Linked DNA regions of Homo sapiens: all the other regions are linked to region 1. Evidence: promoter capture Hi-C in 16 types of primary human blood cells and fetal thymus (Javierre and others, 2016). All regions are on one chromosome and are shown on one strand. The core of a region is centred on a gene start or on the middle of the fragment in contact, and the rest is flanking DNA. Distances in the headings are between cores, read along the strand shown.

The links. Contacts are between HindIII fragments. The CHiCAGO score rates a contact against its expected background, and 5 or more counts as called.
Region 2: a fragment that was not itself captured here is called in contact with the fragment with the promoter of OR14C36 in region 1 in 4 of 17 cell types (non-activated CD4 T cells, naive CD4 T cells, naive CD8 T cells and 1 more); the score reaches 7.2 in non-activated CD4 T cells.
Region 3: a fragment that was not itself captured here is called in contact with the fragment with the promoter of OR14C36 in region 1 in 1 of 17 cell types (naive CD4 T cells); the score reaches 6.7 in naive CD4 T cells.
Region 4: a fragment that was not itself captured here is called in contact with the fragment with the promoter of OR14C36 in region 1 in 3 of 17 cell types (naive CD4 T cells, naive CD8 T cells and total CD4 T cells); the score reaches 7.0 in naive CD4 T cells.
Region 5: a contact is called between a fragment that was not itself captured here and the fragment with the promoter of OR14C36 in region 1, in 1 of 17 cell types (naive CD4 T cells). The highest score is 5.2, in naive CD4 T cells.

Annotation. Positions count from the first base shown.
Region 1 is chr1:248,347,451-248,351,641 of GRCh38, reverse strand. It overlaps OR14C36 (olfactory receptor family 14 subfamily C member 36), which reads right to left and starts at 2,867. Exons shown (of 1, transcript NM_001001918.1): 1 at 1,929-2,867. The coding sequence starts at 2,867. The coding sequence ends at 1,929. The HindIII fragment of the contact is 2,948 bases long and covers 1-2,884 here.
Region 2 is chr1:248,785,661-248,789,948 of GRCh38, reverse strand. No RefSeq gene overlaps it. Among named protein-coding and RNA genes, the nearest start is that of LYPD8, 32 kb to the right of the region's middle. The HindIII fragment of the contact is 1,224 bases long and covers 2,332-3,555 here.
Region 3 is chr1:248,683,320-248,687,654 of GRCh38, reverse strand. It overlaps OR14I1 (olfactory receptor family 14 subfamily I member 1), which reads left to right. Exons shown (of 5, transcript NM_001004734.4): 4 at 2,089-2,203. Among named protein-coding and RNA genes, the nearest start is that of OR14I1, 17 kb to the left of the region's middle. RefSeq lists an enhancer at 668-867. The HindIII fragment of the contact is 2,919 bases long and covers 1-2,860 here.
Region 4 is chr1:248,703,152-248,707,790 of GRCh38, reverse strand. No RefSeq gene overlaps it. Among named protein-coding and RNA genes, the nearest start is that of OR14I1, 2.7 kb to the right of the region's middle. The HindIII fragment of the contact is 9,630 bases long and covers 1-4,639 here.
Region 5 is chr1:248,613,854-248,618,009 of GRCh38, reverse strand. No RefSeq gene overlaps it. Among named protein-coding and RNA genes, the nearest start is that of OR2T10, 18 kb to the right of the region's middle. The HindIII fragment of the contact is 5,034 bases long and covers 1-4,156 here.

The sequences.
Region 1 (4,191 bases), core at 1,618-4,117:
TATCTTGCATTATATTTCTAAACTCAGAAACTCATTTGCTCAATGAGGGAGCATTATTATCCATGACATGAAGTTATCAAAGTGTTGCCTAAGATAATGCATTTGAAGAACGTTGCACAGTTCTTGTTGCAATATGCTAAAGATTTTACGGTTTAAAATTGCTGATACAAATGCGCACATTGTATCAGGATACATACAGGATACAGGATAGTAGAATTGCATGAGCAACAGACATTCAGAATCTGACATTTTATATTTTCATTTAGGGCGATATTGATCATTCACAGCACTCACTGGCATCATTGATCCCCCCATTTTTTTTGCAGGTGTGGGGAAACTGTCAACACCCTCGCCTCTGCAGGAGGTATGGCCATGTAACGCATTGGGCCAAATGACTGGGACAGGCAGCAAAACCAGTGTGCACTTTTCCGTGTTCTCTTCATTTGGGTAACCAGTTCCTGCCTGTGGAAATTTACCTTCCAATACTCAAAATAAATGAATATCATTTTCTGAAAGTTAAAACTCCTTTATGACTTCCTTTGTTTTCAAATGTACATTAGGATTTCATTTCACCTGAGTGCTTTATCCTTTAATTGTGATGACCCTTGAAGTCATAATGTATATTCAAATCTTTATTTCAAATATATATTTTACATTACTCATTATTAACTCTTATTGTCAAAATGAAGACTTGGGTTGCTTTTTAAATATTATCAATTGTTCATTTGCTTGTGAGCTCAAGGGTCTCTTTCCACAGCAGATGCCAAAACAGTCAGGTAAGGCATGCAGGGGGATACTTTGGGTTATTTCCATATTCACAAAAGAACTCATAAACGTGATGTGTTCAGCTCTAAGATGAAATAGTCGCTTAGGCTTTGAGGTGGGTGCTCCCATCACCTTTTCCAACTGGCATTTTTTTGGTCAACGCTTAAAATCATGTTTCAGTGTGACTGGCTTCTTATCTTGCATTTTATTTTTCAAGGATATACAGTACAGAGAGCCCTGCTTACGATCTGAATTTGAAAGATACTATAAACTAGAAGTAAACCTTTGTTATATTATCCTACTAAGAATTTGGGATTACTGATTATTGCAATATAAGCTACCAGATAACGGCTGTTACTATTGGCCATCAAAATAAATCTTTCAGATACATGACACCATCACAAAACAAGACAATACTATTAACTCCTCAAAGGCCTTAATGGATGTATGGAGAAGAAGTTGATAATAAATTGGAATATAGGGTGTGAGCCACTTAAAACAGATAATAAAATAAATGTATCCCCAAAGCACTTGAATGCATTTTTAGTAAAATCGTGGGCTGATAAGTATGATGTATCTAGAGCTTTTCTTTAACATAAAAGGGAAGCTATGTAAAGTGTTACTAATCCCCTCATCTATGACCTGACAAATCCACTCATCTTTTCACAGTATGCATTTCACTCATATTCTTATGGTCCTCCAAAAACATACATTTCTCATATTTAACTTTGAATGAATGCACAACTGAATGTTTTCATTTCTTCTATAATACTAAATATGGCTTTTGAAAATTAATTGACACCATTTTTATTTTGGACTTACCAAAAGTTGAAGAGTGGATGAATATAGAACAGAACTTTAACACAAAATACTTTTAAAGATAATATTTTAGGCTTTATGATTTTTTTTAGTGAGTCATTAACTTGAAAACATGTACTATTAGAATTGTCTTCTTCATAACACCAGATTTTTTTACCCAATGGCATATTAAAATTATTCAAAAACTTTTGAAAGGAAATATCGATTTTGATACATGATGCATTTTAGTAGCCTTATTTATTAAATTTACACCAATTTTATCTAATAACCACAATCAATTATTACAACTTATTCCTGAAAACATGAATATCACAAAACAGCCTAGGGTGAGCCTCTCGGGTTTCTTACACATTTTCTGAATAAAAAATTCTCTTCATGATTTTCTTGATGGCCACCTTTATTTGCTTATTTCTAAGACTGTAAATAATAGGGTTAAAGAGGGGAGGCATTATGGAATAAAAACCAGAAAGGATCAGATCCTGGGTGGCTGCAGGTATCGCAGGTGGCCTGAGGTACACAGAAGAGCATGAACTGAGGAAGACTGACACCACCAGGATGTGAGGGATGCAGGTGGAAAAGGCCTTTGTTCTGTCTGCTCCTCTTGGAAACCCGAGCACGGTCGAAAAGATGTGAATGTAAGACCTGATGATAAAGATGAAACAGCCGCCACCTACCCCCAGAGCAGAGACAACAATCATGACCTCATTGCTGAAGGTGTCAGAGCAAGAGAGCTTCAGCAGAGAGGGGATGTCACAGAAGAATTGATGAATAACGTTGGACCGACAGAAGGGCAGCTGGAATGTGCTGCCAGTGTGCATGCCTGCATAGACAAGACCACTGAGTAGGGAGGCCAGTGTCATCTGGATGCAGATTCGAGAGTTCACGATCACAGGGTAGTGAAGTGGCTGGCAGACAGCCACATAGCGGTCATGAGCCATAATGGTGAGAAACAGAAGCTCCACATATACAAAAAAAACCACGAGGAAGACCTGAGCTACACATCCCGCCTTAGAAATGGTGGTGCTGTCCAGTAGGGAATTGACACATGAGGTAGGGACTGTAACAGAAATGTAGCAGGCATCCAAGATAGACAGATTCCTGAGGAAGAAGTACATGGGCATGTGAAGGCTGCTGTCACAGGTGGTGACGGTCACAATGAGGATGTTTCCCATTAGAGTTACCAAATACAACATAAAGAAGGATGCAGAATGTAAAATCTGTAGTGTCCACACATCAGAAAACCTCATGAGGAGAAATTCCATCACGGTGGTTGAATTGGGCATCGGTGGATGATGAAGCTTGGACCTGGGAAACAGAAATCCTGAACACTCACGAAGAATCAAATGATGGAAAGATGGTTCTTAAATATCGTAGTCTTGATCCCTTTCTAGTTGTAATCTACATTGTTGGTCCTTACATTTTTGAAGGCAACTCAAGTGGTCCTCTATGAACCTACATAATATTCTTTATATTCAAATTGGGCAGATGCTTTGTTGTTGTTTCTGTTGTTTAGAAGTTGTTCAAAATTAAATTTTATGCAACTTAGTGTCCTCCATGGGTCAGATAAAGTTATTTACTTATATTTGATATTAAATAAATATTTTAATAAGTTATTTCACTCAAATATACTTATCGCTAATTATTTATCAATACAGATTCTGATACAGAGAACAAAACTGTTCACCCACATCATGAAGATATTGTCTTTATATGCTTAAGAATTGAATGAACAAATGTATGTTCTGGATAGTTTCTTGAGGTTCTTTAGATAGAGGGGAAATACACAATAATTTGTAGTGATTAAAATCCTAGCTTTGATTTTTAGTTAGCTACTTCAAAATACTGGTCTCCATCATAGTGTGAAATGGGCATTTTAGTTACAGGCTTAGTCTCCATTCCTTTATAGAACTCTAAAAAATGTTCTTTCTGTCATAGTGCTTCATCAGGATGAGATAAGATTTATAAAATCCTTAGGAAATTGTCTAGGACATCATGAATGTTCCTTAACTGTCTCTTGTTATTATTTTCAGAAACATCGATATTGTTATTGGTATGTAGGAATATTTTGAGGGCACATACTACTACCAGACATGTTCTAGATAAAATTCACATATCAATTTAAGACTCTCAATAATCCTGAAAGTTAGTATTTTATTCCCTTTTCACAGGAAGCAAAAACCTGTCCAGATTGAACAGCTACTCTTTCACCACAGTCATCCACCTCGTGTGCTTATTCTGTACCAGTTGCATTCAGCAGATAACTTGGAGACTGTGCCCAGTTGAATGACTCTGTCAGTTTTCAAATAACAGGATCAGGAAAAATAACTAGTGGCTACTAGGATTAATACCTGGGTGATGAAATAATCTGTACAACAAACACCCGTGACACAAGTTTACCTATATAACAAACCTGCACATGTACCTCTGCACTTAAAATAAAGGCTAATTTTTAAAAAAAGGGGGAAAAAAGAATGGCTTCATATTTTCATGATGATGAGCTAATGATAATTTTTCCTTATACTTTTATGTTGATGATCCAATTAGAATTTTACCATCTATAAGTTTCATGTATTATTGTATTAGGTAAATACAGTATGTGTCCAAAAT
Region 2 (4,288 bases), core at 1,694-4,193, 440 kb before region 1:
TCCCCCACTCTTCTCCCCCAACCCCACCTCCCGCCCCACTTTGAGTTTTCCACCTTTCTGGACTAAACCAATGTACATCTTACATGTATCAGTTGGTGTCTTACGTCTTCCTAAAACCAAGTTGTAGCCCAATCACCTTGGGCAAATGTTCTCAGGACTCCCTGGGGCTGTGTCATGGGTTTTATTTCTTATATTTGGCTCAGAATAAATCTTTTCAAATATTTTACAGAGTTTAACTCTTTTCATCAACAAAGCCAACCTCCCCTGCTCAGGTCATGGGAACATTCATTCTATCTTATAGAATGAGGTGTTGCCCATTTTAGAATCGCAAATAGGTTGCAGGGAGCAGCTGATGACTATAATTCTAGGACTTTGGGAGGGTGAGGCGGGAGGATTGCTTGAGGCCAGGACTTTGAAACCAGCTGAGCAACATAGCAAGAACCTGTCTGTACAACAACAACAACAAAATTAGCCAGGTGTGGTGGTGTACACCTATAGTCCCAGCTACTCAGGAGACTGAGGTGGGAGAATTGCTTGAGCCCAAGGAGTTCAAGGCTGCAGTGAGCCATAATTGCACCACTGCACTCCAGCCTGGGCAACAGAGTGAGACCCTGTCTCAATAAAATGAAATAAAATTATAATTGCAATTAATAGCCAATTGAGATCTTCAGACTAATGTGTTGTAATTTTTGACCCTTTCTCATTTCTGGCTAAGCAAATGTGGGCCACAGGATGACACCTCATCCCTGGTCCTCCAAGTTGGGGCTGTTCAATTCCTACCTCTTGAGCTAAACCAAAGAAAAGCTGGGACTCAGGTTTGAGATCCTCATGCTTGGTCTGGTGGCTTCTCCACGCACAACATCTGCCTCTTCCTTTTCCCTCCGGGCTCCTGGAAGAGGGAGTTCCATAGACCAGGGGCCCTTAACCCCATCTGAATTTCACTCATTTTTCAAGTCTCAGGTTTGGACTATCCCTAACATGTCAGTGCTTCTGGCTACAAGCTCTATGGAAGTGATGGGTGGGAGCATCGTAGCAGCAGCAGCTGACACTTATTCAGAACAAGTCATGCCACATACTGTTCTAGGTGCTTAGAGCTCAGGCACTTTGGCTTTAGAATCTGCATAAGAAAACTGTAAGCGTTCATACTTCCCTTATGCACAAGTTCTTACAAGGAGCATAGCAGATATTGATGGGTCCATGAGGAACCTGAAGTCTGACGGGGAGCTGCGCAGCTGGTGCCTTTCTCTAGGATGGGCTCTACCATGGGCACCACTCTATGCTCAGCCTGATTCTCTCCCATCCAGGTTCCTTCCTGGCCGCTTGAGCTTTGACCTGTTATTTTGCACCCATTTTATGTGTTCAGGAAGGGCAGAATTTTGATGAATTGGTCAGCTGCTAGCTATATAAATGGGTGTCATAAATGGGGATTGAGTATGTTTGCAGAGTCTTTATTTCCTCCTTCACCTTTGCATGATACAGGTCTGTCCTTGAAAGACATGCAAACACCATCTGTCCCTGGTGAACATGGGCAAGAACCCTCAGACACTCCATGAGGCCCTGTTATCCTGGGTGGGTGGCTGCTAGGGGCTGTGAAAGCGGTGGGTGATCCCAGGCTGGGGGCTGGATGACTAACACCCTCACATCTCTTCATCTCTTTGACCTGCGTCTATCCATATGTTATTAAGGGTGGGTAGCAATAAAACTTCTTGCCTGGGATGACAGTGATTAAGGAACAGCTTTGCCCCTGCCCAGGCTTCTCTTCCTTCCTGCCATTTTCTTTAGAAGGAGAAAATTGGATGTGCCACCCTTCACCATTCTAACCTTTCTCAAAAGACCCTTCTGAAGAAAATTATCCATGAACAGCCCAGAAGATTAGGACATTTGAATGTGCCCCATGTTGATGAATGCACCTGCTCAGTTGTATTCCACATTTGTGTTTCAACTGTTTCCACTCCTGGTCTGTGTCCCACGTCTTGAGGATTTAGAGAGTAGAAACATACCTTTTACTTTTGTGTAAGGTACATGCTGTGGCATAGAACCTTCATGGTCTTTAGCCAGCAGTGTCGATAGCAAGTGAGAGAAAATAGCTGTGTCACATATGTGAGTCAGGATAGGCTAGGTAATGGTGCTATCGCAAGTGACCCCAAGGTGCCAGAAGCTAAAACATTAAATATTTATTTCTTGTTTATGTTATCTGAGTAAGCTGCATTTCTACTCTGTGTCATCTTAACCTGGGACCCAGCTGGTGGAGAAGACTCTGCATGAAGAATCACTAGTTGTCATGTGGAGTGAAAAGGGAGCACCGCAAACCACAGACTATTCCTGAAAGCTTCTGCTACAAAGGGACACACATCACTGCCGCTCACGTTGCACTGATGGGAGCAAGTCATTTGACCATGTCTGACATCAATGAGGCAGGAGGGTATAATGTTCCCCAGGGAGGGTCAGTGTTTCTCTGGATATATTAATATCTTCTCCCAGACCCTGCATGGATACAAGAGCACACTCCTGGATATTCATCTCAGAACTGGGGAGATGGGACAGTGGCCAGGGATGGCAGTTGGTGGGGGTGAGAGCAACAGGCATTAGAGAGAACTAGGAAACCCAGATCAATTGTCATTCAGCTTCAGCCAAATTTTATATGTTTGCTGAGCCTCAGACTTCTTATCTGAAAAAGAGGGGATTGGATTAGACAAGTGTTAATGTTGATGCCAGCGGGAGCTGATTACAAGTATGTGGGAAAACCCAGATCCATTGGGAGGATAACTCAAGATAGCATAACATAACTGAGAACTCTCAGAAACTCTTCTCCATGCCCTCGCCACATGTGACATAGGGGTCCCTCCCCCTAGACCCTGGAATCTCAATCTGTCTTTATACCTCAGCTTATTCTTCACCCTAGCTTGGTGTCCCCTTTCTTCCTTTTCTGCTTCCTCACAACCTGTTTGTATTCTTCCTCAGAGTTGCCACAGCAAGAAGAATATCTTACAGTTTTCTGCACTCATGTCTTATCTTCCCAAATGCCCATATCCTTCTTGAAGGTTATGTCTACGTCTTTGACGTCTTCTCTTGAGCCTCCTGGCCTATTCTTCCCCACCTCTTACCGTACCTTTCACAGAGCTGAACTCAGTTGTAATTATTCAAGCACCAGCTACTGTTTGCATACATTATCTTGTTTAGTTTTCATGACATTGCTGTTAAAATATATTATGTTCCTCATTTACCCTGTAAGTTTTCTGTCAACCCAGTGAAATGTCAAATGTTTAGTACACACAATAAGGGACCAATAAGCAGCAGCTACTATGATTTTTGTTACTATTACTGATGAGGAAACAGATTTGCAAAGGCCGAGCAATATGCACTTGTTGCACAGTTAGTACGTGGGCACTGAGTTTGAATCCATCAGAGTAGTCATCAGAGCTAATCACTAAATGTTTATTTCTTTCCCCTCCTGAATGTATGTTGGATTGCACTTCCCCACCCTCTGTGTGTCGCAAAATGACTTTGACACTAGCTCTGGCAAGAAGTGACATTTGCCACTTTTTAGGGGAAGCTTTAGAAGCCACTTTAGGAGGTTCACCTCATCCTCTTTCTACTGCAGTTGTGAAAATGAACTCATGTGGTAAGGTAAAGCTCTACCAGTCAGAGGTGCTGAGTCATAAGGATGAGCAGGGTGCTTCTGTCAATGCCAATCAGACATGGAGCGTGGGGGAGACATTGTTAGGCCACTGGAACTTAGGGTGTGGAGGTTTCTACGGCAACATAATCTAATCCATGTGACTGATACACCAAGACATGATTGTACAATTATTGACATGTTCTTTTGGAAATCTGTGGCTATTAACTCCCGTCTCATCCACCAATCAGAGCTGATGGATGCGTTCTTTTTTATTTCTGTCAATACTGACCTTTTCATTAACAAAACCCTTTAACAATCAGGTAGTTGTTGTCAACAGGGAGGTGCAATCCCCTGGGAAGTGTTTTGGTGATTTATGGAGGTGTTTTAGCATGATTACAATTATTATTAGTGGCAGTGGTGACTCATGCAATTTCATGGGCAGGAAATAGGGATGCTAGACATCTTGTAACTTTGGGGATGGTCCTGAACAACAAAAGATTGTCCCAATCTTTCACAGACTGTAGAATGTCTAGGTGGACAAAAGTTATAATGATTGGGGCTTAGAACCTAAATCAGTCTTACATACGAATGCAAAGCATCTGGCAACATAGCTTTTGGGCTGAATTTTCCAAGAATGCAGCTACGCATATGTACAGAGAGGATTGACTT
Region 3 (4,335 bases), core at 152-2,651, 340 kb before region 1:
ATGAATCATTCTTTGATCAAATAAAGTCTGCTAAGTTTAATTTGTCTTAAGTTTTTATATTAAGACTCACTTTCCTCATTTGAAAAATGAAATGATAAAATATATATCTCCTAAATTTCTGCCAGATTTTTCTATTCACTTCTAATTTTCAAATGATCGTATTTAGTGAGATCTACCCATCCTCTTGGTCTGTGACTGGTTGTGGAACAAATAGATTTGGAGGAAGATGAGAAGCATGATGATTGTCTCCATTAAGCCAATAATTTTCTGAGAGTCTATGTGCAATACAGAAACAGGCTGCTGTAACTGCAAAGTAAACTGAGTATACGCACTTAACTGCTCTCATGTGGCATACTGACTAGGCATAGTGATGAAGTAAAACAATTTATTATTTTCTGAGTACTTAAATGTCTGGGTTTTGTACTTTATCGAAGATTATTTTATGAAATGTGAAAATATAAATCCTTTACTTTTTTCACTGTTTACTCTCCTCACTCTCTTAATGAAAATCTCTATATCTCATGCTCATCACTTCCTCACGGACTCTGAGTTCAGTTGGCACCTACTCCATATTCTGCTTTCTGTTTCAGCAGGTAATTTACAATTTAACCCAGAGGAGGCAGCATCCTCCTGAGACCAGCGTCCCCCAGGCTTCCTTCTGGAAGCCAATCTCCTCCAGACTGTGGCGGCCCAGTCTCTATGGGAAACTAACAGAGAAGATTGTCTCCTTGATATATTATACATCAGGTTTTCTCTATCACTGAGTTTGCATGTTAAATTGGGTCACTTCTTCTGGTGAGACACAGAGGAAAACTTCAGAACTGTTTCTTTATCATCATTGGTCCAGACAGTGAATACATATTGAGAAGCTACATGTTATTTAATCAAGGTATTGCTGGTCTTGTATTTCTCAGATATTTACCCAATAAGGAAATTGAATTTGTCTACATGAGATTTATGTAAGCAATCATTTCAAATTTTTTATGAGAAAAAAATCAAGACATGTTTGCTTAAAGTGATTTAATTGTTCTCTTAGTAATTATGTTTCATATTTTTTTCCAATGAAACAAGCAAACAAAATAGTGCATTCAGTTTGCTTGAATTTTTATCATTTTAATCAGTTTTGGAGAGATCTATTTTTAGTTTGAGACTAGAGTGGAAGCAGCTCATGGTGCAGTGTGTATTGGTTTTGTTCCTCAGTGTTGCTCTTTTGCTTGATATAAGTGGGATAAAGGGCAGCTCTTCAGCATCAGGCCACTCAGAGAAAACTACACTGAAGTAAAAAGGCTTCATATAGATTAGATACAAATGCTCTCAGAGGTGGGGCAGCAGAGGCCATCTTGTTGAGTGTAGTTTTACATTTCAGTAAATTGAAATTAAAATGTATTTGTAGGTTCCCCAACTTAAAACAGCTGTGTCAGAACATGACAAGAATTCAGGTCTCTTTTAATCTTATTACTCATCATACCACATGTGTGAATTTAAAATAGACAGACTTGGAAGCAGGAAATCTTTATACATATTTAATTCAATATGCTTTACGGTTAAAAATAATATATTCAAAATTTTCAACTTATATCTATCAATGATGCACATATGTATATGAAAATGTATTGTGTCTTTTTAACCAATGTGTTAACTACTAAGTTTTTGTTAATAAATGCACATCAATTTGCCTAATATTTTGAATAGGTGTATTGTATATATGCTTATATATCATAATGATAATATGTTTGCATCCCTATAGATTTGTTTTGTATGTCCTCAATTTCAAATTGTAGACAATTTTCAAGGAAAATATTAATTTAATAACTTTTCAATAAACAGTAACTATATATACACACTATATGTACACAAATATATACACAACTATATATACATATATATGTATGTATACATATACACAACTATACATATATATGTATATATATACTATACATGTATATTTATATGTATATATATACACGAACTATATATGCACTATATATACACAACTATATATAAATTATATGATGCTTTTCCTTTAGCAGTGCAGAAATGTGAGTGTTAGAATCAAGGAAAGAGCATTATTATTTTCTCATTCTCTAGATAATACATTACAAGGAATTGGCCACGTGGCAGTTTTGTAGAATTTTACATCTACCGATAGCAAGCTAACCCGGGAGATAGTATACTCCTGTACACTGCTGATTCTGCTGGAAGGGTGGGTAACCTTTTGCCTTGTTTTATGGGACAGCTGCAATTCTTGGTTGTTTGGTTGAGATATTTTAAATACAAACCAATTAACAACCATTTTATTACTTGTTTCATTGAGTTCTATTAAAAAGTCAGAACAAAAACCCAGTTTTAAAAGTTACTCTGCATTGTTAAATAGTATTATAATGGATGTCAAAATATGCAGAATGTAATCACCTGAGTCCCCATTACTTTTTTATTAATGTTTAATCATATTTTTTGAGATTATTACTTTAATATGTGAGGTATTTTATTTAATCTATAATGTCAAAGAAAACAGTGGAAAAAAGAGAGCTTTTTTCACTGAATTTTACAAGCAATTTAAATATATAAAATATAAAAGCAATTTATAACACACAAAAGTATTTCAGTTGCTTCTTTGACATTAATGTATAAATAATATTAAAAATATGAAATATCCAAAATCTAGAAAGAGTATAACAAATGATTTTTAAGAACGAGCACTTAGGCTTATCATTTATTCATATTTTTGTTTGCTTTAATGATCTTAACTGTTAAAATATTACAGATATAATTACTGTTCAATGTTTTCAACTTATTTTTTCCCTCCGCTACCCCATTTATTGGCATTTGTATTCATTCCAGTAACTGTTTTATACAAGCTTATCTGTGTGTGTGTGTATATATATATATATATATATGTATGTGTGTGTATTTATAAATAATGCACTGCACAATTTGAATGTTTAAATGCATATGACTGGGAACATATTTTGTGTAATAGTTTGTGGGGTTTTTTCAAAACTATGTTGAAATGTTCAATATTGATGTAGAGTATCCCATTCAGTTTAACTTCTAGAGAGTGTTCCATTCTGGGATAAAGTAGGGTATGTTATCCATTTTCCTAGTGATGGTAATTAGGGGTTTAAACGTCATGGAGCAAACATCCTCACATATGTCATTTTTTAAAACTCAAGTGTACATTTGTGAGAAGGAGCATTGCTGCATCAAACTTGCGCATCTTCAGTTGTGTTCAAAATTTCCAGTTGACCCTCCAAAGTAGGTAGGCTGCTTACACAGCAAACTAAGCAGCAGCAAAGAGCTTCGTCCCTTCACATGTTTGTCGAGACTTTACTTGCCAGACATATGTTTTCTAAAGCAATGGACACAAAATAGCATCATGTTAAAGTTTTAATTTGCATTTCCATAACTAGTAAAGTTGAACACATTTTGAATTGTTATTGGGTCATTAGCTTTCCAGTTTTCTGAGCCCTTGTTCATATACTTTGCTCATTGTTTATGCTAATGTGTTTTTATAGTTTGTCGTTTATCAGGGATAGTGCTCCTTTGTCATTTTCATTGTAAATATGTATTGCTCGTCACTTGACTTTGTGTGACAGTACAATTCTTTTTGTTTTTCCTTTTTGAGATGGAGTTATGCCCTTATTGCCCAGGCTGGAGTGCAGTGGCACGATCTTGGCTCACTGCCACCTCCACCTCCCAGGTTCAAGCGAGTCTCCTGCTCCAACCTCCTGAGTAGCTGGGATTACAGGCATGTGCCACCACGCTCAGCTATTTTGTATTTTCAGTAGAGACGGGATTTCAGCATGTTGGTCAGGCTGGTCTCGAACTCCTCACCTCAGGTGATCCACCTACCTCAACCTCCGAAAGTGCTGGGATTACAGGAGTTCGCCACCGCGCTTTGCCAAGAGTGCAATTCTTTTCAATTACTTGTTTTAATGATACAATGAAATGCTTCAAAGTGACTGTATCATTTATAGCATTTGGACAAAAGATTATCTTCAAATTTTTTCATTAAACATAGGTTCTACCTGTCCTATAAAAAATAACATTTCACATTATCTTTAAAATTTGTCATAAAACATAGGTTCTACCTGTCTTATAAATAACATTTCACATTTGCCTGGTAGCAAGGGATAGCATTTATGTGCTTAATAGAGTTTATCATTAATGAAATAAGGCAACTAAACCTTAGATGATCAGTAACCTGATTTTAAAATCACTTGTTTAAAGTTGGCTCTAGTTTGAAAAAAATTAATAAGTTGTTTTTAGTGAGAATATTTGAGTCATGTGAACAGGATCTAACACACATGACTTTGATGCAGAAAAACTAATTTT
Region 4 (4,639 bases), core at 661-3,160, 360 kb before region 1:
CATGTGTTAAAGATGCCACCTCTTGCCTCCAAGGGCAGCCACCTTTGAGGCTTTCTGTACATAATGAGAACCTTGGTCTCCACAACCCCTTATGTTAACCTAGACACGCCTTTCTAGTGATTCCAGGTCTTTAGATAATAACATAACTCTTTCAACCAACGGCCAATCAGAAAATCTTTGAAGCCACCTGTGACCCGTGAGCCCCGTTTTGAGTTGTCCCACCATTTAGGACTGAACCAATGTATATGTCACATGTATTGATTGATGTCTTAGGTCTCCTTAAAATATGTAAAATGAAGCTGTAACCCACGCATCTTGGGCACGTGTTCTCAGGACCTTCTGAAGTTGCATCATGAGTCATGGCCCTCACATTTGACTCAGAATAAAATCTCTTCAAATATATATTTTTTGTCAACAAAAGGTATCTATAAATGAGGACTATTGGAACTGTTACACTAAGGAAAATATTACAAAGCTGTGTTATACAATGGGTGAAGGGGAGGGTCACTGTACCAGGAAACTAATTTATGGCTGTGGCTGTCTTTGAGAGGGAATTAGCACACACAAAGCAAGTTTAGATCATCAACAGAACAAACTTTTGAGAGAGATTATAGGAATCTTTTTATATGGAACTCTGAACATTATGGATGATGTCCTACTAGATTTTTTTTTTTTTTAAAGACAGGGTCTCATTCTGTTGCTTAGGCTGGGGTGCAGTGGTACAATCATAGCTTACTGTAAACTCAAATTCCTGGGCTCAAACGATCCTCCTGTTTCAGTCTCCCAAGTAGCTAGGATTTCAGGCACACGCCATGATGCCTGACTAATTTTTTATTTTTATGTTTTTGGTAGAGACAGGGTGTCTATGTTGCCCAGGCTGGTCTCAAACTCCTGGCCTCAAGTGATCCTCCTGCCTCGGCTTCCCAAAGCATTGGGATAACAGGTGTGAGCCACACTGCGCTTGGCCCTACAAGAAATTTGACAAAAATGCAGAACCAATCTTCTGTTGCCTCCTGCAGAAAAGAGTACGAAATATAATGTAGACCATTGCTCCAGGTAACTGAACATAATGCAGCGTGCTTGAGGGGCTTAAAGATGAAGGGAGGAACGATTTTCCCTGTCGTAATCTCAGGTAGAGGCTGTTCTTCGCTTTCCACAGACAGAGGCTGATGACCGCAGCTAATTTCTGGCTCCTCATTGCTCTGGCTCTTGGATCCTGAGACAGAGCAGGGACCCCTCTTAGGGGTCTCTGGGTCCCCCAGGCATGGACATAAAAGAAATTCTTGAGTACCTTCAAGGAAAATTCCAGGCACCTAGCTAGCTTAGAAAAGTAAATGAACAATTTGATAAGCAAGAAGGTAATAGTAGTTTAAAACAATAGCCAAAGAAACTAGAGCCAGAAGATGTTTGGCTCCCCATAGAAATTAAAGATAATATCTTAACATATGTTCCTGAGCTAGTTTTCAGAAACCTGGAGCCCCACAAAATGGAACTGCAGACACACAGACCTCAGATAAGGGAGAACTAAGGACTGAACTGTGATTGCCATTAGAAATTTCTTTCTGAGGGGCCTGGAGAAGGTCATACCCATGAGCCAGCACTAATATTCTTTTTTGTTTGATTTTTAAACAAAACTCTTTAACCATTGCAAATCAGAAAATCTTAGAATCTACCCCGACCTGTAAGCCCCACTTCAAGATATCCCACCCGTTTAGGTCAAAACCAATGTGTAACCTCCAGGATTGATTTACAACTTTGCCTGTAGCTTTCCTGAAATTTACCCCTGCTTTTTTTTTTCTTTTTTTTTTAATGGTGTTTCGCTCTTGTTGCCCAGGGTGGAGTGCAATGATATGACCCCGGCTCACCGCAACGTCCGCCTCAATGGTGCGATCTCTGCTCACTGCAACCTCCACCTCCCAGGTTCAAGTGATTTCCTGCCTCAGCCTCCTCCTGAGTAGCTGGGATTGCAGGCGCCGCCACCACAGCTGGCTCTGCCACCACACCCAGCTGATTTTGTATTTTTAGTAAGGATGGGGTATCTCCATGGTGGTCAGGCTGGTCTTGAACTCCCGGCCTCAGCTGATCTGCCCACCTTGGCCTCCCAAAGTGCTGGGATTACAGGCGTGAGCCACCGCGCTGGCCTACCCCGCTTTTAAAAACCATTACCTGCAAGCCACCTCAGAGGTCAGGATTTAAGCATTAGCTTCCTGGTCCTCCTTGCTTGGTGCTCTGCAAATAACTGCCTTCCTTTTTACTGCTGCAAACCTCAGTGTATATATCTGGTCTTACCAGCTGGGTGGGCAGACCCCAGTTCGGGTCAATGACGATCCTTCTCAGAGGTCAGGTCTCTAAGACAAAAGCATGGTGCTCTCCCAACCCCAGGCCTGCCCCCTTTCAAATCTGTGTAGATGACCCATCCAACACTCAGCCCCAAAGGTCCTTTGGTATCTGTGCCTCTTGCCTCCACTCCAGCAAATCCATGTCCAACTTTGACATGGGAACTGTGAAAGGAAAATAAATCTCAGGACTCCGGGCTCACTAAGCAAAAGCGAAAAGTCAAGCTGGGAACTGCATCAGGGAAATTTGTTTCCCATTTTATTCCTAAATAAGATAACCTCAAAGATTAAAAAAAAAAAAGAAAAGAAAAGCTACATACCTCCTTCACAATTTGTACATTAGGAAATTCCTTTACCCTAAAATAGTTCTGCTGAATTTTAGCCTGAAAATGTAAATTGATAGTGTATCTTCACAGGTATGGGACAAAGGGCAGAATTCAAAGTCATTCTTCTGCCCACCTGAGACAAATGCATATCAGATTTCTTCCTCTGTGTTGGGAAAAGCTGAGTGTTGGGAGAAGCTGAGGTGGGGCTTGCATATCTGACATAACGTAAAAGAGCTCTGGAACATGTCCAGGGTTCAGGGTCTAAATCCCCTTGTGGTCTTTGGAACACCAAGCTCTGTGCTAATGGGTGGAAGGCTACCCTGATGCACCATAATCTAAGCCCAGGGCATAAAATCCCTCATGGCTTGGACAGAATCCAGGGCTCGCAGCTCTGGAATGTGTCTAGACTTGCTGGCTCCTTGCTCCTTGCTCCTTGCCCTCCCAGGATCAACAGTACCTTGAGTTAAAAGAACCTGCTCTCCATTTTCTCAAGTAGCAGAGCAGATGCTAAACCATCACAGCTGTAAATCATGTGCTTAATGCAACACGCCCTTTCAGCCTCCACATTCTTACCACCTGTTTCTTTGCTGGATTACCAATAAATAGCACTGGGCTCCCAGAGCTCCGGGCCTTCACAGCCTCCACAATTGTGATGGTCCCGTGGTCCCACTTTACTTCTCCAACTGTCTTTTTCTCAGTCCTTTGACTCTGCCAGACTTTCTCACTCCCGTGACCTGGTGTTGGGTCTGATCACCCCAACATTCTGCCTTATGTTTATATTATATAAAAATGCAGATTAATTGAGCCAGATGAATGCATAAGTGACTATTCCTCTACCTACTTCTCACAAGTGAAGGGCTTATCAAAGACTCGAAAGCATGCCACTGCTTGCCTCCTATTTACCCACACTTTAAAACATTTTTTCCTCTTTCCCCAGTATCTGTCTTTCCCCCTTTAAATTTTGAAGCCCTCACAATCATCTTTGGAGATAAGTACAGACCTGTCTCCTGGATGCATCCTTAACCTTGGCAAAATAAATTTCAGTGCTGACTTTTATTTTGTATTGCCAAATGCAGACTACATGGACAGAGAAAGAAAAATATAACCAACTCTACAAGAAATGACACAAAATAAAAAAGGGAAGAAAAGACACACACATGCCCCATACAGATATGAACAGATAGTGCGAAACAGAGGTAAACAAGACACACAAATACAGACAGGAAGAAGCAGATAAACAAACAAAAAAACAGAGGGATAACATTTTATTAATGAATGTCTCCATCTTGTGGTTATTCATAATGTAGCTACTAATTAAGTCAAGTTTCTTTTTCCATTGTTTATTCATCCATCCACCTTTTCATGCATTCATCCTTCAGTGCAACCGATATTCTTGAGCTCATGCTATATGGCAGGTCCTATTCTAGTGTTGGGGATAAGATAGTGAACAAAGCAGATGAACATCCCTGTCTTTGTACAGCTTTCATTCCAGTTGGGCAGATGGGTGGTAAATTAGGTAAGTATAATGTGTAGTAAATTAGATAAGTATAATGTTAGGTTGCATAATGCTAAGAAGAAAACATAAAGTAGGGAAGGAAATATGAAAGGCTGTTGGAAGATGGAGTTAATATTTTCAGTAGAGTGATCATGGAAGGTCTCACTGAAAGAGTGACTTTTTAGTGAATGCCTGAAGAAAGGGTAGGAGAGAGAAAAGGAGGAAACCTCATGGATATGTAGGGGAAGAGCGATTCAGGAAGAGGAAAAACCCAGTGCAAAGGCTTTGAGTGGGAGTGTGGCTGCTCAAGGAATGGCAAAAAGATCAACTGGGGCTGGAGTGTAGTGAGCAAGGAGGACAGCTGGGAGGTGAGTAAGGAAAAGAGCAAAGAGAGAAAGCAAGAAGGAGAGCATGGAGGACAGCAAGAAGAAGAGGACGAAGGTGAGCAAGGAGGAGAGAAAGAAAAGTGGGCAAAAGAGTAA
Region 5 (4,156 bases), core at 689-3,188, 270 kb before region 1:
TCCCAACATCTTGATTCTTCTGTATTTATGCTTTAAACATAAGAGTCCCTTCACTGAGTGGTAAACACTTATGTTTCAAAAAAGGCCTGAAAATATCTTTTGTTAATTTAATCCTTTTAATTTTTTATTACCATTTTCTTTCAAATTTTTAAGTTTATATTTTAATTGACAATTGTATATATGGTGTACAACCCAATGTTTTAATATGTATATACATATATACACATTTTGGAAAGACAAAATCAAGCTAATCAACATATCAATTACTTCACATCCTATAATTTTTGAGTGGTGGAGTATTTAAAATCTAGCAATTTGAAAATAAATATATAATACGTAGATATAAACTGTAATCATCATGTTATACAATAGATCTAAACTTATTTCTCCTGTCTAACTACCCTTACTTTTGAATGATAGTATAGCTGGGTTTACAATTCGGGATTGGTAGTTTTATTCTAACAGCATTTGTCCTTGAGACGTTCTCTCTTTTTTAAAGTTTTTTTTCCAACTTTTATTTCAGGTTGAGGGGTACATGTGCAGGTTTGTTATATAGGTAAGTTGCATGTCACTGATTATTTCACCACCCAAGTGATAAGCATAGTTCCTGATAGGTAGGTTTTCAGTCCTCACTTTCCTCCCTACACCCTCAAGTAGGCCCGGTGGGGGGGTCTGTTATTCTTTGTGTCCATAGGTACTCTGTTTAGCTCCCACTCATAAGTGAAAATATGTGGTATTTGGTTTTCTGTTTGTGTTAGTTTACTTAGTATAGTGGCCTCTAGCTCCATCAACATTGCCACAAAAAACAAGATCTTGTTTTTTCTGGCTGCATGTATTCCATGATGTATATGTACAGTATTTTCTTGATTCAGTCTACCATTGATGTGCATTTAGGTTGATTCCATTTCTTGGCTATTATGAACGATGCTGTGAAGAACATATGTGTGTGTGTGTGACTTCATGGTAGAATGATTTATATTCCTTTGGGTCAAAAGGTAATTCTACGTTCTTTCAGAAATTGCCAAACTACTTTCACAATGGCTGAACTAATTTACATTCCCAACAGGAGTGTATAAGCATTCCCTATTCTCTGCAACCTAACCAGTATCTGTTATTTTTTTACTTTTTAGTAATAGACACACTGACAGGTGTGAGATGGTATCTCATTGTGGTTTTCATTTGGACTTCTCTAATGGTTAGTGATATTGAGCATTTTTTATATCCTTGTTGCCTGCATGTAAGTCATTTTTGGAAAAGTATCTGTTAATATCCTTTGCCCACTGTGCAAAAGCTGTTTAGTCTAATTAGATCCCATTTGTCAGTTTTCACTTTTGTTGACCTTGCTTGACCTTGCTATTGCCATCTTCACCGTAAAATCTTTTCTGGGTCCTATGTCTAGAATGATATTTCTTAGGTTATTTTCCAGATGTTTTATGGTTTTAGGTTTTACAGTTAAGGGTTTAATCAATCTTGAGTTGACTTTTCTATGTAGTATAAGGAAGGGGTCCAGTTTCAATCTTTTGCATTACGGCTATACAGTTATTTTAGCAACATTTACTGAACACGGAGTTCTTTCCCTATTGCTTGTTTTTGTTCACCTTGTTGAAGATCAGATGGTTTTAGGTGTGTGTCATTATTTCTGGGCTCTCTACTTTGTCCCATTGGTCTATATATCTGTTTTTGTACCAGTACTGTGCTGTTTTGGTTACTGTAGCTCTGTTGCATGATTTAAAGTTGGGTAGTGTGATGCCTCCAGCTTTGTTCTTTTGCTTAGAATTGCCTTGGCTATTTGGGCTCTTTTTTGGTTCCATGTGAATTTTAAAATATTTTTTTCTAATTCTGTGAAGAATTCCATAGGTAGTTTTATATGTGAATAGCACTGAATCTGGAAATTGCCTTGGGCAGGATGACCATTTTCATGGTATTGATTCTTCCTATTCGTGAGCATGTAATGCTTTTCCATTTGTTTCATCTCTCATTTCTTTGAGCAGTGTTTTGTAACTTTCATTGTAGAGATCTTTCACCTCCAGTTAGCTGTATTCCTAGATATTTTATTTTCGTGGCTATTATGAAGGAGATTGCATTCTTGATTTGGCTCTCAGCATGAATGTTAGTGCATAGGAAGGCTACTGAGTTTTGTACCTTGATTTTATATCCTGAAACTTTGCTGAAGTTGTTTATCAGATCAAGGAGCTTTGGGACAGAGACCATGTGGTTTACTAGATATAGTATCATGTTGTCTGCAAGCAGGGATAGTTTGAGGTTTTTTTCTTCCTATTTGGATGTCTTTTATTTCCTTCTCTTGCTGATTGCTCTGGCCAGAACTTCCAATACTATGTTGAATAGGAGTGGTGAGAGAGGGCATCCTTTTCTTGTGCTGGTTTTTAAGGGAAATGCTTCCAGCTTTTGCACATTCAGTATGATCACTGTGGAGTTTTCATAGAAGGCATTTGTTATTTTGAGGTATATTTCTTCAATGACTAGTTTAATTGAGAGTTTTTAACATGGGAGTTAAAATTTATCAAAAGCCTTTTCTGAATCATTGAGATAATCATTTGGTTTTTGTTTTTAATTCTATGTGATGTGATGTTGAACCAACCTTGCATCCCAGGGATGAATCCTACTTTGGTCACGGTGGATAAACTTTTTGATGTGCTGTTAGATTCTATTTGTATTTTGTTGAAGATTTTTGCATCTGTTAATCAAAGATACTGGCCTGAAGTTTTTCTTTTTGTGTGTGTGTCTCTGCCAGGTTTTGAGATCAGGATGATGCTGGCCTTATAGAATAAGTTAGGGAGGGGTCTCTCCTCAATTATTTGGAATACTTTCTGTAGGAATGATATGAGCTCTTCTTTGTACCTCTTGCAGAATTTAGTTATGAATCTGTCTGGTCCTGGACTTTTTGTAGTTGGCAGGCTTTCTATTGTGAATTTAATTTCAGAACTTTTTAATGGTCTGTTCAGGGATTCTGTTTCATCCTGATTCAATGTTGAGAGGTTGTATGTGTCCAGGAATTCATTGATTTCTTCTAGATTCTCTAGCATAAAGCTGTTCATAGTAGTCTGAGGGTTTTCTTTGGTTGGTGTTTCTGTCAGGTTGCTGGTAATGAACTCTTTGACAATCCTGATTGTACTTATTTGTAGCTTCTCTTTTTTCTTAGTCTATCTAGTGGTCTATTTGTCTCTTTATGTTTTTCAAATACCAACTCCTGGATTCGTTGATCTTTCGTATGGTTTTTCACATCTCAATTTCCTCCCATTAAGCTCTGATTTTGATTAGTTCTTTGCTAGTTTTGGAGTTGGTTTGCTTTTGTTTCTCTAGTTCTAAGTGTGTGATGTTAGGTTGTTAATTTTAGGTCTTTCTGACTTTTTCATGTGGATATTTAGTGTTGCAGACTCCTCAACACTTCTTTAGCTACATCCTAGAGATTCTGGTATATTTTACCTTTGTTCTCATTAGTTTCAAATAATTTCTTGATTTCTGCCTTAATTTTGTTGTCTACAAAAAGGTCACCATTAGCATATTTAATTTTCATATAACTTTGTTTTGAGTGATTTTCTTAGTATTGATCTCTATTTATTGCACTGTGGTCCAAGAATATGGTTGGTATAATTAAGTTGCTGAGGATTGTTTTGTGTCCGATTGGTCAATTTTGGAGTATATGCTGTGTACACGTGAGAAGAATGTATATTCTGTTTTGGGGTTCAGAGTTCTGAAGATGTCTATTAGGTCCATTTGGCCAAGTGTTGAGTTTAGGTCTCAAGTCTCTTTGTTAGCTTTTTGCCTCAATACTGTCAGTGGGATGCTGAAATCTCCCATTATTATTGTATGGGAGTCTGAGTATCTTTGTAGGTCTTTAAGAACTTGCTTCATGAACCTGGGTGCTTCTGTGTTGTATGCATAGATAGCTAGGATAGTTAGATCTTGTTGAATGGAAACCTGTAGCATTATATTATGGCCATCTTTGTCTTTTGTGACCTTTGCTGGTTTGAAGTCTGTTTTGCCTGAAACTAGAATCGAAACCCTTGCTTCTTTGTTTCCATTTGCTTGGTAGATTTTTTTCCATCCCTTTACTTTGAGCCTATTGGTGTCATTGCATGTTAAATGGGTCTTTTGATGACAGCATACCTTTGAATCTTCTTTATCCAGCTTCCCA